7 separate regions of the Homo sapiens genome follow, and regions 1, 2, 3, 4, 6 and 7 are each linked to region 5. The links are contacts of gene promoters, found by promoter capture Hi-C in blood cells and fetal thymus (Javierre and others, 2016). All regions are on one chromosome and are shown on one strand. The core of a region is centred on a gene start or on the middle of the fragment in contact, and the rest is flanking DNA. Distances in the headings are between cores, read along the strand shown.

Evidence for each region. The method cuts DNA at HindIII sites, captures the fragments that hold promoters and counts their contacts. A CHiCAGO score of 5 or more calls a contact.
Region 1: a fragment that was not itself captured here is called in contact with the fragment with the promoter of TBC1D23 in region 5 in 4 of 17 cell types (neutrophils, non-activated CD4 T cells, fetal thymus and 1 more); the score reaches 6.7 in neutrophils.
Region 2: a contact is called between a fragment that was not itself captured here and the fragment with the promoter of TBC1D23 in region 5, in 14 of 17 cell types (naive B cells, naive CD8 T cells, total B cells and 11 more). The highest score is 19.5, in naive B cells.
Region 3: a contact is called between a fragment that was not itself captured here and the fragment with the promoter of TBC1D23 in region 5, in 3 of 17 cell types (neutrophils, non-activated CD4 T cells and fetal thymus). The highest score is 7.3, in neutrophils.
Region 4: a contact is called between a fragment that was not itself captured here and the fragment with the promoter of TBC1D23 in region 5, in 7 of 17 cell types (total B cells, fetal thymus, total CD8 T cells and 4 more). The highest score is 9.3, in total B cells.
Region 6: a contact is called between a fragment that was not itself captured here and the fragment with the promoter of TBC1D23 in region 5, in 1 of 17 cell types (total CD8 T cells). The highest score is 5.3, in total CD8 T cells.
Region 7: a contact is called between a fragment that was not itself captured here and the fragment with the promoter of TBC1D23 in region 5, in 3 of 17 cell types (naive B cells, total B cells and monocytes). The highest score is 9.4, in naive B cells.

Annotation. Positions count from the first base shown.
Region 1 is chr3:100,719,843-100,723,485 of GRCh38, forward strand. It overlaps TFG (trafficking from ER to golgi regulator), which reads left to right. Exons shown (of 8, transcript NM_006070.6): 3 at 133-216. Among named protein-coding and RNA genes, the nearest start is that of TFG, 12 kb to the left of the region's middle. The HindIII fragment of the contact is 1,488 bases long and covers 1,650-3,137 here.
Region 2 is chr3:99,804,008-99,807,482 of GRCh38, forward strand. No RefSeq gene overlaps it. Among named protein-coding and RNA genes, the nearest start is that of CMSS1, 12 kb to the right of the region's middle. The HindIII fragment of the contact is 4,083 bases long and covers 151-3,475 here.
Region 3 is chr3:100,697,464-100,700,780 of GRCh38, forward strand. No RefSeq gene overlaps it. Among named protein-coding and RNA genes, the nearest start is that of TFG, 10 kb to the right of the region's middle. The HindIII fragment of the contact is 5,167 bases long and covers 1-3,317 here.
Region 4 is chr3:100,591,329-100,595,062 of GRCh38, forward strand. No RefSeq gene overlaps it. Among named protein-coding and RNA genes, the nearest start is that of ADGRG7, 16 kb to the right of the region's middle. The HindIII fragment of the contact is 1,719 bases long and covers 695-2,413 here.
Region 5 is chr3:100,259,169-100,262,797 of GRCh38, forward strand. TBC1D23 (TBC1 domain family member 23) reads left to right here and starts at 1,824. Exons shown (of 19, transcript NM_001199198.3): 1 at 1,824-1,903. The coding sequence starts at 1,851. RefSeq lists enhancers at 1,228-1,896, 1,632-2,121, 1,897-2,565. The HindIII fragment of the contact is 5,201 bases long and covers 1-3,142 here.
Region 6 is chr3:100,740,704-100,744,398 of GRCh38, forward strand. The region is part of intron 6 of TFG (trafficking from ER to golgi regulator); the gene reads left to right. Among named protein-coding and RNA genes, the nearest start is that of TFG, 33 kb to the left of the region's middle. The HindIII fragment of the contact is 199 bases long and covers 2,198-2,396 here.
Region 7 is chr3:99,788,141-99,791,916 of GRCh38, forward strand. COL8A1 (collagen type VIII alpha 1 chain) reads left to right here. Exons shown (of 4, transcript NM_020351.4): 3 at 2,540-2,870. The coding sequence starts at 2,543. Among named protein-coding and RNA genes, the nearest start is that of CMSS1, 28 kb to the right of the region's middle. The HindIII fragment of the contact is 1,999 bases long and covers 958-2,956 here.

The DNA.
Region 1 (3,643 bases), core at 1,144-3,643, 460 kb after region 5:
GGTTTCTATGGGAGAGTCCAACTATGTTCTACAATCTACATTTTGGATTTTTAATTTTTACTAGTTTACTGCTTATACAAATCTGAAAATTTAAAAAATTAAAAAACAACCTTTTTTTTTTTTAAATTCCAGATGGAGATCTTATAACAATTTTTGATAGTTCTGACCTTTCCTTTGCAATTCAGTGCAGTAGGATACTGAAACTGACATTATTTGGTGAGTAGTAAACTTTCTAATGAATTTACTATTTTATTCATTGTATTTTAAAGATGTTTGGCTTTTTTCCTTTTAAAGACTCAGGTAAGCAATAACTTATTCAAATATTATTACATTTATTTGTGTTCAGGTAGTTGTTTTAGATTACTTGAAGCTTATGGCTGTGTATGTTTTTAAGAAAATGATAGAAGTTTAATTCAGTAAGAACAGAGTGTTAAGTATGTTTTTTTTGAAATCAGGTATAACTTAGGTATCCCTGGTGCAGTATTATAGTTTTAATTTAGCTGTATTAGAATTTTTAAATTGTAATTATCTTCCTTCACATTACAGTATGTTGTTACTTATTATCAGGGCTTAACATGTAAGTCTGATACTTGAAACCAGTAGTCGCCAACCTTTTTGCACTGGAAACTGGTTTCGTGTAAGACAGTTCTTCTATGGAAGGGGGCAGGAGAAGGTTTGGGGATGAAACTCTTCCACTTTGCATGTGCAATTCACAATAGGGTTCACACTCCTATGTGAATCTAATGCCACTGCTGAACTGACAGGAGGCGGAGCCCACCACTTAACCTCCTGCTGTGCTGCCCAGCCCGGTTTGGTTCCTAACAGGCCACAGAGTAGCACTGGGTTGGGGACCCTTGCTTTAGACAGTATTTCCCGAGGGGTACTTAAAGATTAAAAATAGTTCTGATAAAAACCAATAGAAGACTAATTTTAATCTTTTAGATTTTTTCTTTTAGATCTTAATAGATATGCAAGGCAGAACTCTTAAGGGACAAGATAGAAAAGATTACAGAGTTAAATGGTAGTGTGATTATGTGAAAAATAAAATGTGTACACTTTTTCCGGCTGTTTTGTTGTTTTGTTTAGCATTAATTTTATTTTTTTTTAATTTTGTTGCATGAAACTTAGAGTTCAGTGTGAAATATGATCATGGTCTATTGATTTAATTTGTATCTATTTCATCTCCATCTAGGAAGGATGAATATGAATAATCAGAATTTAAATGTTAATAACAAAAACTGTTTAAAATTATTTAAAATAAAGGTATCTTTTTACAGTATTGAATGTAAAATACTTAACTATTGACTAGGCATAAAGCAGATTAGATAATCTGAAGACCCTTACTTTAAACAGGATCTGCTAGATAAACTTACAAATGTGTTTTCTGAATTCTGTAACTCAGCTTGCACAGGAAAGTAAGGGAAATATCCAGGGAACAAAAAAGTAGAGGGAACTAAAGGCCTGATGTACCAAAAGCTGAAACTTGGGGTGTTCTTGGTGGTGATAGTAGAGATTTTAGCCTGCATAATTTAAGGAATTGCCATCTGGTGTCTACATGGTGTAGGCCCTTGGTCCTAGTCCCTCAGTAGGCCATGCTTTCAAAAAGAATATTTTAGAAAAGTCTACCTTGATACAGGGAAAGTCAAGGAAGCTTAACTCTTATACCTTGGGCCGTCAGGGGCTTGGGAAGTCTCCCTTCAGGATTCATAATTGTGGTCCTTAGGTGAGTTGGGTTTAAATTTAAACTATCCATGTAGTTTGGTAACTCCCAAGCCCAGATGTTACCATTTTAGAAAAATCTCAGAAGAAAGGCCAAAATCTCTCTTGAGGGGTATATTCTCAATCCAGGTCACATAGGTTTCTCACAGACAAAACCGTAAGACACATGAAGCTGTCAGGTAAGCAAGAACCACTGGACACAACTAATAGCAGGATTAGATTTTCAACAACTTCAGTTAAGATATGTGATAGTCTACAAAATTAAAAGTTATTTAAGACATAGAAGAAGGAATAAGAATATAAAAGCAGCCGGCCGTGGTGGCTCACGCCTGTAATTCCAGCACTTTGGGAGGCCAAGGCGGGCGGATTGCCTGAGTGCAGGAGTTCGCGACCAGCCTGAGCAACACGGTAAAACCCTATCTCTACTGAAATGCAAAAAATTAGCCAGCTGTAGTGGTGTGTGCCTGTAGTCCCAGCTACTTGAGAGGCTGAGGCAGGAGAATTGCTTGAACCTGGGAGGTGGAGGTTGCAGTGAGTCGAGATCGCGCCACTGCACTCCAGCCTGGGTGACAGAGTGAGACTCCATCTCAGAAAAAACAAAACAAAACGAGAACATAAGAGCAAGATGCTATTGTATTATGGAAAAACAATAAACAGATTTTATAAAGAACTTAAAGTAACTTGGAAATGAGAAATATAATCATTGAAATTAAATACTAAGTGGATAGGTTAAACACATTAGTCATAGCTAAAAAGAGAATTAGTGAACTGAAAAGGAAATCCAAAGAAATTACAGAGTAAAGCACAAAAACACAGGCAAAAGAGAAGTTGAAAATGAGAACATCCAGAATATTTCTATTCAGAGTTTCAAGAAGGAGAGAATGGGAGAGTGGAAATACATTGAGGTAATGACTAAAGAAATTTTCAGAGTTATATAAAAGCTATAGACCCTCAGATTCAGAAGGCACGGGGAGCCTTGAGCAGGGATAAGTAAAAGTAAATCCCCACTGGACATATTGTCATGAAACTGGAAAATGTCTTAAGACAGAGAGATTACCTTAAAAGTAGCCAGAGAGAATAAGACTGATCACATATGAAACAATTAGACTGTTAGTAGACTTCTTCATAGTAATAATAGAGGCTAAAAGACAGTATTATCACAGTTGCAAACAGTAAAGAAAAATAACTAGAAAAGTAGCATCCTATACTCCACTAAATTTCACGAATGAGGAGAAGTAAAAATACTTTGAAAGACTGAGAATTTACCACTCATGGACCCTTGTTAAAATAATTTTTAACAGTGGTCTTCATCAAGAAGGAAATTTAGTCCAGAAGGTGGTGAAAGATGCAAGAAGCAATGTGAGCAGATAAACTGTTGCTTGGTCAGTAGGCTATGCTTTCAAAAACTATTTTAGAAAAGCTTTTCCATTGATACAGAAAAAGTCAAGGAAGCTTAACTCTTAAACCTTGGGCTGTCAGGGGATTGGGAAGCACCAATGAAATTTATGTGTACGTTTTAATGAGCATTGATTGTTACAAAATTAATAGTCTTAGGGAATAAAAACAATTTGGGACAAAAATACTGGGCAATAATATGTAAGAAAGGAAGGGATGATAGGAATAAAAATATTTTAAGGACTTATTTGGGAGGAACATTGTAATTACCTTTAGATTTTTTTAATTGCATACTACATATGCAGAAGTATGCATGGTGTACATGTAAGAGTTATAATTGAAAAATTAGACATTGTCAGGAAAGGAGAAAAAAAGAAAACAAGGGTACCTGTTCAGTTCAGTAGAAAGTGGTGGCGGAATAAAAGAGGTAGAAAGCTCAATAGATAGAACAGAATACTAATCACAGTACACAGAAATTGACTACATATATCGGTTAAAATAATCTCTTAATGGAATTTTAAAAAAAATC
Region 2 (3,475 bases), core at 942-3,441, 450 kb before region 5:
CCTCAGCCTCCCAAGTAGCTGGGACTACAGGCACACACCACCACACCTGGCTAGAGACTGGATAATTTATAAAGAAAAGTTTAATTGGCTCACAGTTCCACAGGCTGTACAGGAAGCATGGCAGCATCTGCTTCTGAGGAGGCCTCAGGAAGCTTTTATTCACAGTGGAAGGCAAAGTCAGAGCAGGCATCTTCTCATGGCTGGAGCAGGAGGAAGAGAGAAAGGGGGGAGGTGCTACACACTTTAAAACAACCCCATCTCATGAGAACTCACTCACTATCATGAGAACCACTGCATGGGGACAGTGCTAAATCATTTATGAAAAACTGCCTCCATGATCCAATCACCTCCCATGCCCCACCTCCCACATTAGTGCTACATTTTGACATAAGATTTGGGTGGGGACACAGATCCGAATCCTATCATTCCACTCTTGGCCCCTCCCAAATCTCATGTCCTTCTCACACTGCAAAATCCAATCATGCCTTCCCAACAGCCCCCCAAAGTCTTAACTCATTCCAACGTTAACTCGAAAGTCTAAAGTCCAAAGTCTCATCTGAGACAAAGCTAGCCCCTTCCATCTATGAGCCTATAAAATAAAAAACAAGTTAGTTACTTCCAAGATACAATGGAGGTATAGGCATTGGGTAAATACTCCCATTCCAAAAGGGAGAAATTGGCCAAAACAATTGGGCTAGAGGCCCCATGCAAGTCTGAAACTCAGTAGGGCAGTCCTGAAATCTTAAAGATCCAAAACAATCTCCTTTGACTCCATGTCTCACATCCAGGGCACACTGATTCAACGGATGGGCTCCCAAGATCTTGGGCAGTTCCACCCCTACAGCTTTGCAGGGTTCAGCTCCCAGAGCTGCTCTCAAAGGCTGATGTTGAGTGCTTGTAGCTCTTCCAGGCAACAGGTGCAAGCTGTTAGTGTATCTACCATTCCAGAGTCTTGAGGAAGGTGGCCCTCTTCTCACAGCTTCACTAGGCAACACTCCAGTGGAGACTCTGTGTGGGAGCTACAGTCCCACGTTTCCCCTCTGCAATGCCCTGGTAGGGGTTCTCCATGAGGGCTCTGCCCCTTCAGCAGGCTACTGTCTGGACATCCAGGCTTTTCCACACATCCTCTGAAATCCAGGTGGAGGTTCCCAAGCCTCAACTCTTGCACTCTGCATACCCACAGGCTTAACAGCATGTGGAAACCACCAAGGCTTATGGTTTGCACCTTCTGAAGCAGTGGCCCAAGCTGTACCTGGGCCCCTTTGAGCCACAGCTGGAGCGAGAATGGCTGGGATGCAGGGAGCAGTGTCCCAAGCCTGCACAGGGTAGTCAGGCTCTAAGTGAGGCCCACAAAACCATTCTGTCCTCCCAGGCCTCCAGGCCTGTGATGGGAGGGGCTGCCACAAAGATCTCTGAAATGCCTTGGAGGCATTTCCCCCATTGTCATGGCTATCAGCATGTGCCTTCCTTTTAGCTATACAAATTTCTGCAGCCAGTCTGAACTGCTCCCCGGAAAATGGGCTTTTCTTCTCTACCACATGACTAGTTTGCAAATTTTTCAAACGTTTATGTTTTGCTTCCCCTTTAAACGTAAGTTCTAGTTTTATGTCCTTTCTTTGCTCATACATTATTAGCATAGGTTGTTAGAAGCAGCCAGGCCACATCTTCAACACATTGGTGCTTAGAAATTTCTTCTGCCAGATACCCCAAATCATCACTCTCAAGTTCAAAGTTCCATAGATTCCTAGGGCAGGGGTACAATGCCACCAGGTTCTTTGCTAACACATAACAAAAGTAACCTTTGCTCCAGTTCCCAATAAGTTCCTCACTTTCATCTGAGATCTCATTACCCTGGACCTCATTGTCCATATCATTAACAGCATTTTGGTCATAACAGTTTAACAAGTCTCTGAGAATTTCCAAATTTTCCCTCATCTTCCTGTCTTCTTCTGAGCCCACCAAATTGTTCAAACCTCTGCCTGTTACCCAGTTCCAAAGCTGATTTCACATTTTCAGGTATCTTTATAGCAATGCCCTACTCTTCAGTATCAATTTTCTGAATTAGTCTGTTCTTGCACTGCTATCAAGAAATACCTGAGACTGGGTAATCTACAAAGTAAAGAGATTTAATTGACTCACAGTTCTGCAGGCTGTACAGGAAGCACTGGGGCATTAGATTCTGGGGAGGCCTCAGGGAGCTTCCAGAGGGGTAACAACTGCTACCATTTAGTGAGTGCCAACCATGTGCCACAAACTGCTTTAAATGTTTTTATGTATTGACTTAGTTACTCCTCATAATAACTCTATTATTAGCTCCATTTTACAGCTAAAGAAATGGAGGCACTGGGCATGGTGGCTCACACTGGTAATCCCAGCATTTTGGGAGGCGAAGGCACAAGGATGACTTGAGCCCCAGAGTTCAAGACCAGCCTGGGTAACATAGTAAGACCCTGTCTCTACAAAAAATATTTAAAAATTAGCCAGTGTGGTGGTGTGCACCTGTAGTACCAGCTACTTGGGAGGCTGGGGAGGAAGGATCCCTTGAGCCTAGGAGTTCAAACCTTCAGTGAGCTATGACTGTGCCTGCACTCCAGCCTAGGCAACAGAGTGAGACCCTGGGGGAAAAAAAAAGAAAGAAAGAAAGGAAGAGAGAAAGACAGAAAGAAAGAGAGAGAAAAGACAAGACAAGAAGCAGAGACATAGTAACTTGTCCAAGATCTAATAAATGACAATGCCATGATTTTAATGCAGATATCTGGCTTCACAGTCCATGCTCTCAGGTATTATGCCAGATCGCCTCCTCAAGGAAGGAGACAAAAGTTCTTAGCTATCTAAGAAGCAAACAACTGCCAGTGAGGGTTCAGGAGATGACAGGGCTCTCTGTTGTTTCTTGATTATTGTGCTTACCAGAGACAACAGATATAGTCAGCTACAAAAAGACTATGACAGATGTCATGGTGACATTCCCATCCCTTAGAATATATAAAGGCAGCAGGTTTTGAAAAGGAAAGGGACCTACCTCATACTTATTAGGAAGACTACTATCAAAACAAACAAAAACCAGATAATAACAAGTATTGGCAAGGATGTGGAGAAACTGGAACCCTTGTGCACTGCTTGGGGGGAATGTGAAACTGGACCACTGTGAAAAACAGTATGGTGGTTTCTCAAAAAATTAAAAATAGAGTTACCATATGATCAAGCATTTCCACTTCTGGTATATACCCAAAAGAATTGAAAGCATGAACTCAAACATACATGTGTATATTCATGTTCATAGCAGCATTATTCACAATATCTAAAAGGTGGAATTAACCCAAGAGGCCACTAATGGATGAATGAATAAACAAAATGTGGCCTATAATGCAATGGACTATTATTCAGCCTTAAAAAGGAAGAATATTTTGACACATGCTATAACATGGATGAACCTTGAGGACATTATGCCAGTCACAAAATAACAAATATTGTATGA
Region 3 (3,317 bases), core at 18-2,517, 440 kb after region 5:
CGGGGATCAGGGAACTCTATCCTTTCACAGGGAGTGCTAAGAATGTGTCAGATATTCTTTTTCTCTCTGTTTCCTGGGTCTGTGTGCTTCTGTGTTTGATGTCATTCTAAAATTGGGTTTAGGTGGCTGGAAATTGGCTATTGGCATCCCTAATCTTATAGCCTAATGATCTAACAGGAAGAGACCTTTTTTCTCTTAGTATCCACAGTAAAATCTCATGGAATGACTCTAATTCTAGTTATCATTCCAGCAGGAAAACAGAAAGCACATTAAGTATTTAAAATAAAATTTTAAAGCAGACAGTTGGTTTTGTGGTGTTTAACAAGCTCAGAGACAAATTGGAGAATGAGGCAGGAAATGTAGAGATTAGCAAAATAAGAAAGCAGAAACCTCTTTTAAGCCAGAGAGATAAAGTAAGAAGAATTTCCATAGCCAGGCCTGCGGCTGAAACCAGGGCGGGCCAATGGTGGGAGCTGCAGCCAAAAAGAGGCAGCCTGCTCTACCCAGAAAGAAGAACCGAAGAAGAATCCTGGCTTTCCCTTTCCTCCTGTCCTGCAGCCTCCCATCAACATCTTCCATTGGCTGTAGCCTGCTGAGCCCGGGCCAAGTCCCCCTGTATTACACAATACAACAGGTGCAAGGAGAGGAGAGAACTGAAGGCAAACAGGCCCAGGACTGGCATATCTTGCTTGGGTAGTGTACCCACAGGCATTGTGTTCCGGGAATATTGCTCCAGCTTGGGTCACATACCCACTATGAAGTGGACAGATGGAAGATGACTTGGTTGATAGGATAGCATGGACTGGAGAAAGGACAATTATATCAGGGAAGGGATGTTGGCATCAAAACATTAAAGAACTTCTACTACACTCCCTGACAAAGTACAAGTACTCCCTGGGAAAGAACTACTTTAAAACTCGTCAGTCATCTCCCTTGTCTGAGCAGGGTTTGAATAGGGTCGGTAGGGAGATCAAGAAATTAGGGAGACCAAGAAATTATTTGGTGCCTTGGAAGTTGAGGAGCAAAAAGAGAAATTAGAAGAGCAGAAGGGTGACTTACTTTAAAAACAAGAGATTGCAGGAAAGGGAGACTCAAGGCACTGCAGAACTCATTTTTGTGATATTGTATATGGGCAGCTGTGCCTTTCTGTGTTTTCTGGTTTATTTTGTGTGATAACAGTGCCCAATAGCCTTTATTTTTTATTGTGGTGGCATGTGCAGTTTCTTTGGGGAGCAAACCGTCCTGACCTTTGGATTTCCTTTTCTGAGTCTTAATTGACAATTCAGAGTTCACTGTTAAATTGTCAGAGTTTGGATTGCTTTTTCTCTTATCTTTCCTATTTTAAAGTTTATCTTGCCTCTCTTTTTTTTTTCTTCCTGTCACCAACAAAGGGAGATCGTTCTCAAGCTCATTGCTATCAGCTTATCATTGCCTCATTCAGAAGAGCTTGGCATTTTTTGTAAGTGTTTGGGAAATCTGAGACAGAAGTGTCAACTGGATTTTACCAGTCTGTCAAACACCGGAGCTCTCTGGCTCTGTGGAAACCCCTTAATGTAACCTTTTAGTTCCTATGGCTCCTCAGATGAGGTCCAAGACTGTTCCACACTGGGGGTTGCGGGGAGGGGGGTTACTGAAAGAGGAAACTGCTGTAACAATTTCAGCTTTAAAAAATATTCACATACAACTCAATAGCAAAAAAAACCCAAAATCAAAACCATACAAAACAAAAAACCTGATTAAAAAATGAGCAAAGGACCTGAGTAGACATTTTCCCAAAAAACACATGCAAGTTGCCAACAGTTATATGAAATGATGTTCAACATCACTAACCATCAGGGAAATGCAAATGAAAGCCACAATGAGATATCACTTCATACTTGTTAGAATGGCTATGATCAATAATGTTAAAAGATAACAAGCGTTAGCTAGGATGTGGAGAAAAGGGAATCCTTTTACATTGTTGGTGGGAATTGAAATTGGTATACCCACTATAGAAAACAGTATGAATGCTCCTCAAAAAATTACAAAGAGAACAACCATATGACCCACAATCCCTTTGATGGGTATATATCCAAAGGAAATGAAGTCAGTACTTCAGGGAGATATTTCTGCTCCCACGTTTATTGTGGCATTATTCATGATAGCTAAGATATACAAACAACATAAGTGTCCATTGAAGGATGAATGGATAAAAAAATTATGATACAGGCACACACACACACACACACACACACACACACACACACACACACCATGGAGTACTATTCAGCCTTAAAAAAGGAGGTAATGCTATTTGTAATAACATGATTAACCTGAAGGATATTATGGTAAGTGAAATAACCCAGACACAGAAAGAAACGTACTGCATGATCTTACTTATATGTAGAATCTAAAAAGAAGTCAAGCTCACAGTAACAGAGAGTAGAATGGACTGGGACTGGGAAGTTGGGGGAAAGGGGAGATGTTGGTCAAATGGTACAACATTCAGTTATAGGATAAATAAGTTCTGGAGATATAATGTACAGCATGGTGACTATAGTTGATAACGGTGTATTACACATTTGAAATTTGCTGGGAGCAGAAAAAGCAATATTCACAAAGCGTATCTTTTACAAAAGCAAAATCCATAATTCCCTAACTTTCACTATTGTCTGTTTTTCCATAATCTCTATGCTGTTTGTCTGAAAACATAAGAATTTTACATAACTAATGACAATACATGATTTGATTTTCACTTATTACCTAGTTATGCAGTCTTCTTAATGATTACATAATATGATATAATTTACTAAGTTGTTTCCCTAGTATTGTCTATTTAGATCATTTTAATATTTAACATGTAGTGACACTGTGATGAATAAACTAGTACATGTATTTTTTCCTTTCTTTTTCATTATTTCCTTAAAATAAATTCTCTTGACTCAGATAAATGTGCCAAATTCTCTTGACCAGATAAATGTAAGACCCTAGTGTATATTGGTATATTGTTTAGAAAACATTGCAAGAATGTATAATGTCATCAACATTTGGAGGACCATAAACTTTTTTTAATACAGTTGTTTGTTGCAGTATTTTCTTATTTATAATTTTGGCCCATTTTCAATTGAGGTATTGTAATTTTTTCTCAGAAATTTGTGTTTCTTATCTATTATAGATCATAGCCTTTTAACTATTACACTTGGTGAAAATATTTCTTCCAGTTTATTGTTTTCTTCTCTTTTTAGAATAATGAAATGATTACTCTGGATTTGATTGGAAATGTCCAAAAGATTAATAGAGCGTTTAGGATTTTCTGAGTTTATATGCCCTTACCCAGG
Region 4 (3,734 bases), core at 304-2,803, 330 kb after region 5:
AGCTGCTCCGTTTGTGATACTTTCTTATAGCAACCTTAGCAAACTCAAACAACCCCATTACTTTACATTAGTTTTAAGCTTAATGTTTTTAGATTTCAGAATAAAGCATGGAAAATGGTACACTGAGGGCAATACGGCAAATGCCAGGGATGAAGATATTATCTACCCCAAGTTTTATTACCAGCCATAAAATGCATTATCTTTGTTGAGAAACTTACTGACAACTTGGCTTAGTTATACATTTATACTATTTTATGGGCTCACCAGGTTGGCAAGTGTCCTTAACCAGTATTTTTGTCATTCCAACATTCCTCTGGGAGGCAATGTTTATACTTGTAAATCATTTATTAACTAGTGACTTCTGCATTGTTGTCTTTGGTGTCTTCTAATGTTTTATACGCTTGCTAACTAGATCACAAACTCGTTGAGTATCCTTGAATATCATACATTATTATTAAGCTTTCTGGGGATTATGGGCCTTCATATCCTGTAAAATGCATGGTTCTTATTGCAGAATGGCCCCTGTATTAGTTCTCCAGAGAAACAGAACCAATATACAAATGTAGGCTTGAGGGGAGGATTTTAAGGAATTGGCACAAGTGGCTGTAGAGGCTGACAAGTCCCAAACCTGTGGTACTTTCTTAGAGCAGCCTTAGCAAACTAATACAATCTTATTACTTTAACATTAGTTTTAAGCTTCATGTTTTAGAATTCAAAATAAGGCATGTATTTGAGACAACAGGCTGGGAAGAGTTGATGTTACAGTTCAAGCCCAGAGGAATTCCTTCTTCTTTGGGAAAGGTTAGCCTTTTTTTATTAAGGCCTTCAACTGGGCTGGGCATGGTGGCTCATGTCTGTAATCCCAGCACTTTGGGAGGCCAAGACGGAAGGATTGCTTGAGCTCAGGAATTCGAGACCAGCCTGGCAATATAGGCAGCCTGTGTCAAAAAAAAAAAAAAAAAAAAAAATTAGCCAGTGCCAATAGTCTCAACTACTCGGGAAGCCTGGGCGATTGAAGCTGTGATGAGATGATTGTACCACTGCACTCCAGCCTGGGTGACTGAGTGAAAACTGTGGAAAAATAAAAAAATTAAAAAAAAGGCCTTCAACTGATTGTATAATGATATGGTTTAGATGTGTGACCCCTTCAAATCTCATGTTGAAATGTGATCCCCCATGTTGGAGGTGAGCCTATACGGAGGTATTGGATCAGGGGGCAGATCCCTCATGAATGGCTTAGCACAACCCCCTTGGTGATAGTGAGTTCTCTGAGTGCGTGAGATCTTGTTTCGGAGGGTATCACCTCTCCTGCTGTCACTCTAGCTCCTGCTAGCTCCATGTGACATGCTGGCTCCCTGTCGTCTTCTGTCATGATTGTGAGCTTCCTGAGGCTCTCACCGGAAGCTGAGCAGATGTTGGCACCGTGCTTCTTGTACAGCCTGCAGAACCATGAGTCAATTAAACCTCTTTTCTTTATCAGTTACCCAACCTCAGGTATTCCTTTATAGCAACACAAAAATGGCCCAATACAGATGAGGCCCACCCACATTACCAAGGGTAATTCACTTTACTCAAAGTCTACTGGCTTAAGGCTGGGCAAGAGTAGCTCACACCTGTAAACCCAACACTTTGAGAGGCCGAGGCAGGTGGATCACATGAGGCCAAGAGTTCGAAGCCAGCCTGGCCAACGTGGCAAAACCCTGTCTCTACTAAAAAATACAAAAATTGCTGGGCATGGTGGTGCATGCCTGTAGTCCCAGCTAATCAGATAGCTGAGGCATTAGAATCACTTGAGCTGGGGGCGGAGTTTGCGGTGAGCCGAGATCATGCCACTGCACTCCAGCCTGGGCAATAGAGCGAGAGTCTGTCAAAAAATAAAAAAAATCAAAATCCAAAAAGTCTACTCACTTAAATGTTAAGTGTTAATTCTCATCTATAAAATACTTTCATCTTCATCTCTGATCTAGGAGGACATTCAAGACCCAGGCTCCTTTTGTTTGATCGTTCTACCATTTTTTGAGATGTCCATGTCGGCATTCAAGACTATAGAAGGGGAAAATAGAGTGGCTGGAATTTCTAATGTGATGTGTAATTTCTACTGTGATCTGGAAATCTGGAAGGTGCAATCATCCTTTCTGCCTATTTTCCAATAGCCTAAACTTAGTCATATAACTACACTTTGCTTCAAGGGAGGCTGGAAATAATCGTGACTTGCTTGCAGGCCATTAGCTCCCCTGAAATTAAAGTTCTTTTTTTTTTTTTTAAAGAAGGAAAGGATAGATCGTAGGTTATTTGGTAGTCTCTTCCAAAACACTCAGGCAAATTAATAACATCCAAAATTTGAAAATCTTGAACAAATGAGATGATCAGGGGAATCATCAGTGGAAAATAAGGAATTTTATAAATGAGGTAAAGCTTCAGCTCAGCATTAGGATTTTAATTCAGTTTATTAGAACTTCTGTTACCAGGCTATTTGTAAATTAGAGAAAATGTAAGAGACAATGTTAACAAAATTAAATAAAAAATACCTTCACAAAAAATCTGAATAAATTTTGACCAAATATCTGAATACTATGGCCAAGCCAAGTTGACACATAAAATTAATCATCACAGCCTCCAGTGAATCCTGCCATCTTGAATTTGTGCTTTTTGTAGCATGAATCTGGACTGGTCTTGTGATCATTGGTTTTTAAAATTTTTTATGGATACATAATGGTTATGCATGTTTATGGAGTACATATGATATTTCGACACAAGCATGTAATGTGCAATGATCAAATCTAGGTAGTTGAAATATCCATCATCTCAAACATTTATCATCTGTTTGTGTTGGAAACATTCTAAGATGATTCTTCTAGTTATTTTAAAATACATGATAAATTATTGCTAACTATAGTTGCCCTATTGTGCTACTGAGCATTAGATTTTATTCATTCTATCTAATCATATTTTCGTACTCATTAATCAACTCCTCTTTATCTCCCCCTCCCCACTACCCTTCCCACTCTCTGGTAACCACCATTCTACTCTCTACGTCCATGAGATCAATTGTTTTAGCTTGCACATGAGTAAGAACTTGTCACATTTGTCTTTCTGTGCCTGACTTATTTTACTTAACGTAATGTCTGCCAGTCTCATCCATGTTGCTGCAAATGACAGGATTTTATTTATTTTTTTATCTTAAGGATGCTGAATGGCTTAAGAGTCACTGTTATTTTCTTTTATTGATTTATTGATTTCAATTGTGATATAGATCATTAGTTTTCTATTAGGTTTTTTATTATGGTCATATGGCTTTATAAAGCAATGCTATTCAACTGATGTTCTGCAACATAAAGGGGAATTGGTTTATTGTGGCTTTTGATGTTTCTAGAAATATTAATTTTGGTATAATGATTCACTTCCTTTTAAAATAATTTTTCCATAGGTTATTGGGGATACAGGTGGTATTTGGTTACATGAGTAGGTTCTTTAGTGGTGATTTGTGAGACTTTGGTGCACCCATCACCCAAGCAGTGGACACTGCACCCTATTTGTAGTCTTTTATCCCTTGCCCCCACTTCCACCCTTCCAAGTTCCCAAAGTCCATTGTGTCGTTCTTATGCCTTTGTGTCCTCATAGCTTAGCTCCCATATATCAGTGAGAACAAACAATGTTTGGCTTTTCATTCCTGAGTTATTTCACTTAGAATAATAGTCTCCAATCTCATCCAGGTTTCTGCAACTGCCATTAAT
Region 5 (3,629 bases), core at 574-3,073:
CCCAAATTATTAAGAATTTCAAGATGGCAACACCAGAGCATGAAATCAAGCACAGAGTTCTTCTAAGCATGTGGTCTCATGCTATTGCATAGACTACATGCCCATGAAGCTGGCTCTGGCTCCATTAAAGAACATAGAAGTCAGAACTTTCCACTTTATTTTGACAGAATAAAGAACTGTTTAAAAATGTCAAGTGACATATTTTTAATGGGAAAATATTTTACCAGAGACTATAAAGCAGTTGCTGATTTAATTATACTCAAAATGAATCATAATTGAGGACTAGAATCTTCTTAACCAGTGAGCAACTGCTTCTCATGTCAATGACTGAATAGGTTTTAAAACCATTTTCTGAAAAGTTTCTGAAAATCTACTGGCAACAATTGAAGGGACCCAGGGGAGGTCCTGAATATTAGAATGGTAATGTGACCTAGATTCACGTCTTTTATTCTTTTTGATAGAGGGCATCTACAGTCTCATTCTATGTTAAAAGAAATGTTCCCTAACAGAGAACTGAACATTACAGAGATCCGGGCCTTGGAAGTGGGTGCAGTACCATGCAGATCTGTATTATTTCCCTTTAGGGAAGAGAGTGAACATGTTTTTGGTTGTAAATGAGATAGCTGTACTGTTTTGTATCTATTTAAAACAAATAGTTTTTGAAACTATGAAACATTTTAGATACCTAAGTATAGACTCTATAAAGAACACTGGCCACCTATGTGGCCACCTTGGGGCCCTTAATAAATATTTAAAAATTCATGGAAACTCCTCCCTTTCCCTGAATGTAACTGCCATTCCGAGTTTTCTATATATCATTCTCCTGCATTTTAAACTCATATGGATCTATTTTAAATATATTGTCTTTTAAACACCAACTATAAATGATACCATACTTTACCTATCCGTCTGCAATCTGTTTTGCTCATTTAACAGCGTATTTTTCAGATGTATCCATATTGTTACATGCAGTTCTACTTCATCACTGTTGTTTTCAGGGCTTGCAAAAGCGTTTCTTTAGGTCCATCCTCCTGAGCGTGTGCTCACCCCAAGGCCCCGGCGGTGGCCAAGTGTCCGCCCATGCGGTGTAAAGGGGAAGTGGAACGCGTAGAGAAGGATTTTGGCAGCTCTGCTTGCCTGGAATTCCAGTCCTAGAATTCTAAATTCGGACTTGATCTTCCAGACTGTTAGGAAGATATATTTAAGGTAGGAGGCTAGAACGTATCTCCTTTAGTATATAGCTTCATTTACAACTTTTAAATATTCAGTCAAAAAGTATGTGGGCCTTCATTTACACTTTTGACGGGGCCTCACAAATAGGGGTGGTCTGCCCCTTTCCTTACGTCCCACTCTTTCTTCAAATTAAATTGCTACAGCAGGAAATTACTGAACTGTGGCTCTTCTCCTACGTCCGCCTTCCCTATGTCAATTCCCATTTCCCTTGCTTTCTCCAATAGTTAGGACTGTAAATTCTAACTTTGTTAATTTCGACGCCAAGCTGGAATGAAGACGCTAAGTGGACGCTAAAAAGACACGCTGTTTGTCACACAAGGCCTCCAACTGGGACGGCGTCCACCGCGCCCCGCCCCGCCCGCGGCACCGTGGCATCTTGGGACATGTAGTCTTTGGAGGGGCAGCTGCCTCCACCAAGTCTCCTCCCCCAAGACGCTGCCTTTCGGCCTCGGGACGCCGTGACGTTGCGTTCCTCCAGTCCCTTGCCACCTCCCTCTTTCTTCCCCTCTGGGGAAGCTCAGTGCTGGACTTCCGAAGACCTTTTACGACATTGAGTCTCGGAGTTGGTCTCAGCGCCGGATCCACTTTTCGGCAAAGTGACGTGGACGTCAACAGCAATGGCGGAAGGAGAAGATGTGCCGCCGCTGCCAACGTCGAGCGGCGACGGCTGGTGAGTGAAAGCCGGGGCTAATTTCCAATGCCCCTTTATTCTTCCTTCTCACCATCTTGCCGGTCCCCGAGGAGCCGTCTGGCGTCGGCATGGAACGGAGAGGCCGGTCCTAGGCGAAGTCCGGTGCCCTGCCCTACCCCTCTGCCAGCTGGGTGCCCCCTGCCTGCCTGGTTCTGCCCAAGGGACTGGGGCGGGACTCCCAAGGAGAGGGGTGTCATCCAGGTGCTGGGCCTCAGAACGGTCCTCCTGTGTCGTCTGTCAGTCTCCAAAGTGTGCTGGAGTGGGTGGCTTCAGGGCTGGGTTTGGCCGGAGTCCTGGCTGTGGGAGTTGGAGTAGGCTGAAGAAGGAAGTTTGTTGGATGCAGATCTGAGTCACTAAAATACAATGTGAAGAAAAGACGTTTTGAAATGACCACTGCGACCTTCGCCTGAGGGTTCAGAGGTTGACCCGAGGAGAATCCCTCCCACTTAGTTGGTATACTTTTTTTTATTCTGGCTGTTATCTCGTTTTGCATTCCAACAGTTTTCATCGTTCGTCTCCTTCACGCAAGTCATCTTTTCCCCTACTACCACATTTCTCACAGCTCGATTTCTGAGCTTTGGATGCAGTGTGGGACTTTGCTCTTACTGCACCCAAGCTGTTGCATGCTTACCTGATTTATACTCGGGATTGTGGGGGAAGACCGCCAATAATTTTTTGGTAAACTGCTCACCCAGTGTTAATCTTTGGGAAAGGCTTCTACTTTTGAAATAGTTGATCTCACGATACACTGTTAGGTTGTACAACATCATTTTTTAAAAAGGGACCTTTAGAGGCTTGTCTAAATTTTACAGTTGATCTAAGTGTATTGACCACATGTATTAGTTTTGGATTTGCTTGTTCGTTATATTGTATGTGTACAGCTCATGGGCACTTTAAAAATAATACAGGACATTGATAGACATCGACTTTAATCCCAGAGGAAAAAAATGGAAATCGTTGAAAGGGATAGATAATTAGTAATTAAGAAATTCAGCTCTCCATTAGCAGACATCAAACATTACCGTAGCGCTGGGCTCTCCAAGGTGTCAGAGGAAAACTTCATGGTGATCTAGATATAGTTTTTTTTTCTTCAACTTGCTTATGTTGGAGTTGGGAAGGTGTAACAAGGTAAAATTAATCTTATTCTTTGTGAGTGTGATTCAAAGTGTTACGAGAGGTTGGCGGTGGGGGCTGGGGCAGTTGGAGTCACTGGGGGAAAGCTTCATGAAAGCAGCAGTGTTTCAACTAGGCTTTGAAGAATAAGTAGGATTTAAGCCCCAGGGCTGTCTAATAGAAGCCACATATTGTAATTTAAAATTATGTAGTAGCAGCATTTAAAACTGAAAAGAAGGCTGGGCGCGGTGGCTCACGCCTGTAATCCCAGCACTTTGGGAGGCCGAGGCGGGCGGATCACTTGAAGTCAGGAGTTCCAGACCAGCCTGACCAACATGGTGAAACCCCGTCTCTACTAAGAATATAAAAATTAGCCGGGCGTGGTGGCGCGTGCCTGTAATCTCAGCTGCTTGGGAGGCTGAGGCAGGAGAATCGCTTGAACCCGGGAGGCAGAGGTTGCAGTGAGCCGAGATCGAGCCACTACTGTCCAGCCCGGCGGCAGTGTGAGGCTCGGTCTCAAAAAAAAAAAAAAAAAAAAAACACTAAAAAGAAACAGGTGAAATCAGTTTTAATAATCTATTTAACATATTTC
Region 6 (3,695 bases), core at 1,047-3,546, 480 kb after region 5:
GGTTGGCTACTCTGTGTAATAAATAATTCCCAGAAGTCTTACCATTACTCTTTGCTTCATCCTGTTCTCTTTTCCCCTTAATTTTTTTTATTACTTTTTACTTTATTCTGTCATTGATTCTTTTTGAAAATATACATAAAACATAGCTTATATATAGTCATGCACTGTATAACATTTCAGTCAACAGTGGACTGCATATATGATGGTGGTCTCATAAGATTATAATGGAGGTGAAAAATTTCTATTGCCTAGTGATGTGTAGCCATCATAATGTAGCACAAGGCATTACTTACGTGTTTGTGGTGATTCTGGTGTAAACAGACTTACTGCCAGTCATATAAAAGTGTAGCTCACATAATTATGGGTAGTACCTAATACTTGATAATGATGATAGGTGACTCTCTTACTCATTTGTGAATTTACTATACTATATTTTTAAATCATTAGAGTGTACTCCTACTTATTTAAAAAAAAACAAAGCTGTAGAACCAGGCTCAGATAGGTCCTTCAGAAGGTATTCCGGAAGAAGGCATTGTTATCATAGGAGATGAGAGCTCCATGGATGTTCTTGACCCTGAAGACCTTCCAGTGGGACAGGATATGGAGGTGGAAAATAGTGATATCAATGATCCTGATGCTGTATAGGCCTAGGCTAATGTGTATGTTTGTGTCATAATTTTTTTCTAAATGTTTAAAAAAGTAAAAATTTAAAATTAAAAGAATAGAAAAATGCTTATAGAATAAGGATATAAAGAATAAATATTTTTGTATAGTAGCACAATGTACTTTAAGCTAAAGTATTAAAAAAGTTAAAAAATCAAGTTTATAAAGTAAAAACATTACAGTAAGCTAAGGTTAATTTATTGAAGAAATGGAATTTTAAAAAATAAATGTAGTATAGCCTAAGTGTATAGCGTTTGTAAACCTTTAGTAGTGCACAGTAATGTCCTTGGCCTTCACATTCACTCAACACAAGTACCTCACTTGGAGCAGCTTTTAATCCTACAAGCTCCAGTCATGGTAAGTGCCCTAGGCAGGCATACCATTTTTTATCTTTTTTGCCATATTTTCACTGTACCTTTTTTATGTTTTGATATGTTTAGATACACAAATAATTACCATGTGTTAGAATTGCCTAAGTATTCAGTACAGGAACATGCTCTACAGGTTTGTAGACTGCTATGTACCATATAGCCTAGCTATGTAGTAGGCTATATACATCTAGGTTTGTGTAAGTATACTATATGATTATACAGTGACACAATTTTCAGAACCTACTCTTGTCATTAAGCAATGCATGACCATATTTTTTATTACTCAAAACATTGCTTACTATAAACAATGTCTGCATTTTGCTCTCTTCATATATCCTATAGATCTCTCAAGTATGTGAAGAAGTTCATCCTTTTTCTTTTTTTAAACAATTAAACAGACTTCTTAATTAATTTTCAGAATACTGTGACAGTCCCATTTGGACTTGAATGAGGTGGGTTTAAAGTAAGTACCGTAAATCCTCACTTAACATTGTTGATAGGTTCTTGGAAATTGTAACTTTAAGTGAGATGACGTATGAGGAAATCAGTTCTACCATAGGCTAATTGATATGAGTAAGTTGAGTTCCTACAGCATATCTCTGATCACAAAAATACCCCCAGACTTCTAGATAAAGACTAAAAACAAATGTGAGTTATAGATACATTTAAGAAAGATTAATAAAAACAAATAAGATAATGATTTATGCAGTTATTCCAATTCAGGGTTGTGGGTGGCTGAAATCTATCCCATCAGCTCAGTAGCAAAGTGGGGACCAACCCTGACAGGTTGCTATTCCATTGCAGGGTGCATTGCAACCACACACACACCCATAGTCGTTCAGACTGAGATCATTTAGACATGCTAAGTAACCTAACATACACATCTTTGGGATGTGGGAGGAAATTGAAGTGCCCAGAGAAAACCCACACAGACTTGGGGAGAATGTGCAGACTCTACACAGAACAGTAACCCCAACTGGGAATAATTTTTTTTTCCTTCTCAGTGTTTTAACGAAACAATGTCGAACAAAAGATGTTATTTGAGGATCTGCTGTGTAAAAGGAATCTTGTGTAGAGATATAATAAACCTCTGAAATTTTTAACTCTAGGGATGTTTTTCAAAATCAATTTATAGCAGTTTATGAAAACATGCAAAAAAAAAAAGCTTTATGAAGAGTTGTACCCTATAAATTTTTATTGAGGGGAATAACTGTGGTTTTGACCAGGAGTTCCTTACTCATTGATGACCACAGTCTACTACTACGTGGAACCTTAATCTCAGCCTTTTTTGATGATGCCCAAGTTAATATTTATATTGTTTTGTTCATGGGATAATATATGCAAAATGACTTTATAAACTAAAGCTTTGGAGTTATGCCTGAGTTCCAGTGATGGTTCTTAGCTCTTCATGGTTCTGTTCTTAGCTATTGACTGCAGGTAAGTTGCTTAATTTTTCTGTATCTGAGATAAGGAATACTAATATGGTTGAATTTTTTTAAATGTGTTTATTGCCTGTTTGCTTATTTTTTTATTGTGGAGTTAAGCCTTCTAATTTTCAAGAATTAAGAGTTCATTGTTATGTGCTATACGTATTTATTCCCCTTGATTATATTTCTGTACCTACTTACCTTTTTATTTTAGATTCTGGTCACTTCTATTCCGAAAGTTAGTTATGAAGTACAATCCAGGATTAAGGTGGCATCTAAATTTGGTTAATTTCTGTGCTACCTTTTATGCTATTAGTCTAAATCATTAAGAAAGCATTTAAGAAACTTTTGTAAGCGTTTCTTTTTTTTTCTTGTCATATTTGGGAATAGGATAAATAGCTTAAAATAGTTGAGCTGATTTTTATTTGTATTCTTTTTTTATTATAAAGAAACATTTGCTAGGAAATAAGCTGGATATAAACATAGTTGTATCTCCTTTAGTGCTACCCAGCACTAAAAACTTAGACACGTATAGGGCTGAGCAGCTGGTATAATAGAGTGGGCTCCGTCTCATTTTCTAAGCCTGTGAGTCCTAGCTGCCTACTGCAGCTCGATTTGAGTGGGAGTTGATATAATGTCTTTTTTTTTTTCTCACTTCAGCAGTAAGTATCTGGTTTGCTCATAGTCTTTTGATTAATAGGTAGTTTGAATATTTTTCAAAGAATCAGCCAACATGTGATTATTTTAAAGATTTAAATACCAGATAGATATTAAAATGCAAGGTTATTGCTACTAGATATTACATCTAGCTAAATCAACCATTGTGAAATAATTGAGAAGTAGAGATAATAAAGACATAAACCAATAAATCTTTGCTTGAAAATCACAGGTATGGGAACAGATTGTGAGGACAGAAAAATAAAAAGTAAAAAGAAAAATCATAGGTAATAAGTGTCTAAAGGGTTTCTTCATAGGAACAGTGGTTGTTGACCCCAAATAGGACAAATAGGACTCCCATGTTCAAGAACACATCACCGTTGTTAAAAAGGTCTGCCATTATTAAATAGTGCAATGAAGAACCATTTAGACTTTATTAGAGTCCACGTTATTGGCAAAAGATGTTGGATATTCATAGAAAATCAAACTTGACAAATTCCAAAAGTGTCTTTCAGCTCTGGAACAAAAGATGTCATATAGTTCCTTGCTACCAAAGAGTTTGTTCATATGGTAATAG
Region 7 (3,776 bases), core at 707-3,206, 470 kb before region 5:
AGAAAAATTAGTAGGAATAAGTAAAGCAGTAAATTCTAACCAGGGCCCTTATATAAATATTCACGTTAAAACTGAACAAAGTTTATTTAGATAAAGAGCCAGAGAAATGGCAGAAGGCAGACCTAAAGAGCTGGTTTACAGGACAGATATGCTGAGCCTATGAGAGGAAATAATTCAACTGGTATTCTTCCAGGCATTTCATCTCCTTCCAGTTTTCCAGTATTTCATTAGATTGTCCTGGTTTAAAGATTATGAAGTATAATCCAACATATCCACTGAATTGATGGAAGGCTGAAGGGCCAAACATGCTAGCTTATTATTAAAGACTTCACCACAAGTCTGGGGTTCCATAATTAAATTCATTCATCCCCAAAAGTAGAATTAAGTACCAGCTTATACATTACCAGATATTACCACACATTTCTGGTATGGATTAACACTTTCAGATCTCTAGTAACTGTCTTACAGACATTGAATGTTAGAGCTAGAAAAGACTTAAGGGAACATCCAAGTCATATTTTAATAAATGAAGAACTTAAAGAAATTTGTTTAGATGCACATAACTAGACAAGGAATAAGTACTGATCTTTGAGTGAAAAAAGCAAAAAATAGAAGTGTGTATAGTATACTGCAATTTATGTTTGAAAGGGATGTATATGATATGTGCATATCCACAGACTATCTGAAAAATATGAGGAAAAATTGTTGCTTCAAACATAAGGGATTTTAGATACTGGAGAACAGAAGTAGGAGGAAAATTTACTTTTTACTAGATATCCTTTGCTACTCAATAACAGTTTACACATCTGTCACCCCCACTAAGAGTACAAACTCCTTGATGGTAAGGCCCACCAGCCATATTATATTCATCTTAGTAATCCAAAATGGGCCTAGCAACTGTTTCTTCATTTTTTCCAGGGAAAAAATGATTTGTTAGTGTATTTAGAAAGATTGTAAAGCTTGAATTTTGTGATAGGGATTCATTTTAAATATTTTATTAGGTGTTTTATTAACCAATCCTTTTGTAGCCTGTATACACTCTTGGCATTACCCTGGAATAGGATATTGCAAAATCAACGCACATTTTCTAAGAAGTAGAAAACTATGATCCAGAATTAAGTAAGGCAAAAGCAAAGAAAACAACTCTCAAGAAGATGGAAATTGAATTATTTACAGACAGAAGTTTCTTCAAAGTTTTCCAGAAGATACTTACATTAAAAATTGTGAGAAATTTGCCACTTCTCTCTCTCTCTCTCCAGCATTATGATGACATGTCCCTTAAGATTCAAATTTTCATTAAGTCCCTTTATACATTGTGAGCATGGAGTTCGTGTATGCCCAGCATTAGAACTACAGAGGGCAGGGAGTGGGCAGGCAGAATATTGAACAGACCTAAGTGTGTATCACACTTGCCCTCTAGTGTGCATTTGCCAACAATGCACTTCTCTGGGCTGTCTGGTTTTAAGCCTAGGGCGTTTCCAAACAGAGGTCTTTTCAAGCTGGTTTTTATAAACAGATAAGCCCCATTTATATTAATTCTGTTTACTGCTAATTTGTAAAGAGTGCTATTAATGGGCTTAGAAGCAGCGTATTCTTATTAATAGTTAAACATCTCCCTCTTATTCATACAACTCTTGCTTTGTAAACTTTCTTTCACAAAAGGACAAAGATAGACTTTAATGGTCCAATTAACCAATTTCTAAACTAATGAATTCATAGTATTTTAATACAAGAAATAAAGGTGCATAATTATGATAGTGATTTTTAAAATATTTCATACTATTACATGAAGAAGCATTTTCTCTTCAACTCAGAAGACTTCTGCAGGCTTTGTTCCTGTTTGCTCTTTACATTTACATTTATTTGTGACTACATCAAAGCAGCCCTCATCTGGCAGATGAAAAATCTCTACTGTAGCATAAAGCCTATAAATTATCAACTGTTTCCATTTAGAATATAATTTTGGCACTTATTAACAAAGCCTAACCAGGACTGAGGTTTATTCTAGCTCGTTTTATCATTCTCTGTGCACTGCATTCGCCTCATGGTCCAAGATGTGTGGTCTGTTTCCAGTAACATATCAGCAATCCAGCCAGAAGGAAGGAGGAAGGGGAAGACATATCCACTCCTTTTTAGGATTCTTCCTGGAAGGTACACCCATGACAACTATACACAATTGGCAAGAATGGCTGAAATGGCCCTGCCTGGCTGAAATGTCTTCATTCTGGGCTGCTCTATTCCCAGGTGAAGACGGGAAAACAGGGCAAGAAAGGCAGAATCGATATGGGGGACAACCAGTAGTCTCTCCCATAGTCTATGTTCCTACCAATTGCCTTTATTTGACAGATTCCACTATTCTCTATTTTTTGTTTGTTTGTTTTCTATAGAAAGTAGCATTTTCCTTTTCATTTGACTTCTATCATGAAGTTCTGATGTTAAAGACTGTTTCCCTTTTTTTTCCCCATTCTATCTCTAAATAAACTCAAGTCACTTGGCCTTGCAGAGTTTCACCAAGTTGGTGCATTGGTTCCTCCCACAGGTGATGGCTGTGCTGCCTGGCCCTCTGCAGCTGCTGGGAGTGCTGCTTACCATTTCCCTGAGTTCCATCAGGCTCATTCAGGCTGGTGCCTACTATGGGATCAAGCCGCTGCCACCTCAAATTCCTCCTCAGATGCCACCACAAATTCCACAATACCAGCCCCTGGGTCAGCAAGTACCTCACATGCCTTTGGCCAAAGATGGCCTTGCCATGGGCAAGGAGATGCCCCACTTGCAGTATGGCAAAGAGTATCCACACCTACCCCAATATATGAAGGAAATTCAACCGGCGCCAAGAATGGGCAAGGAAGCCGTACCCAAGAAAGGCAAAGGTAACATCATACTCCCAGGCTGTTATAAAACAACAGCTTTCCAAATCTCTAAATTATGGGATCAGAGGGGGAAGATAAATTTTAGAAGCTTTAGTTTTAGAATTTGTTACTGGCATTTTTAAAATGCCTACTGTGTTCTAACCATATTCTTGAAAACTTCAAGCCTTAAAGACACAGATAAGACTACCATTTATGTTTTGCTTTATTATTTTAACTAGCATCAGATGAAATAAAATATATTAAATCACAAATAGTCTATCCCCTTATTGTTTATTTATTCAAACATTCAGCAACTATCTATAGTGAGCACCTATTTGTGTCAGGCTCTGGGCCAGATGCTGGGAGCTAAAGCAGTGAAAAAAAAGAAAGGTGACAAGTCAGTCTTCTGAACTAAGAGAGCAATGTTGTAAGGACCTGCTGTGTTAAAAGAAAAGTCACAGGAAAGCATTTTGCGAACTAAGTATTAGACAGGTGCAAGTGTTCTTAATACTACTCTAATTACATATGTCAATCAATAGATCAACAGAAGGAAACTAAGAGTATAGACTGCATCTAGGGATGACACCTGAAAATCTCTCCTGTTGCTTTCTTGGCGTATTTATTTAGCACCAACAAAATGCCCCTCAGTGTGACAGACACTTGACGATAAATTCATTTGGTTTGTCTGGAGTTCTCAGAAACCTAGTACTTGCTGCATCAGAGCAGCAATTACCTTTGAGGAAGTGGAGCCAGTCCCACTAGTCCCTACAATGGCAGGAAGCTCCACCTCTGGAGAACTACTGGATTTGGAACTTAGAGGCCTAGATGCCTGGATGCCAGAAATGAGAGAGACCTAGTCATTTGACCTTTCAGAGCCTATTTTTCTTCATTTGTAAAATAAGATTGTTGAGAGAATCAGTGACATAC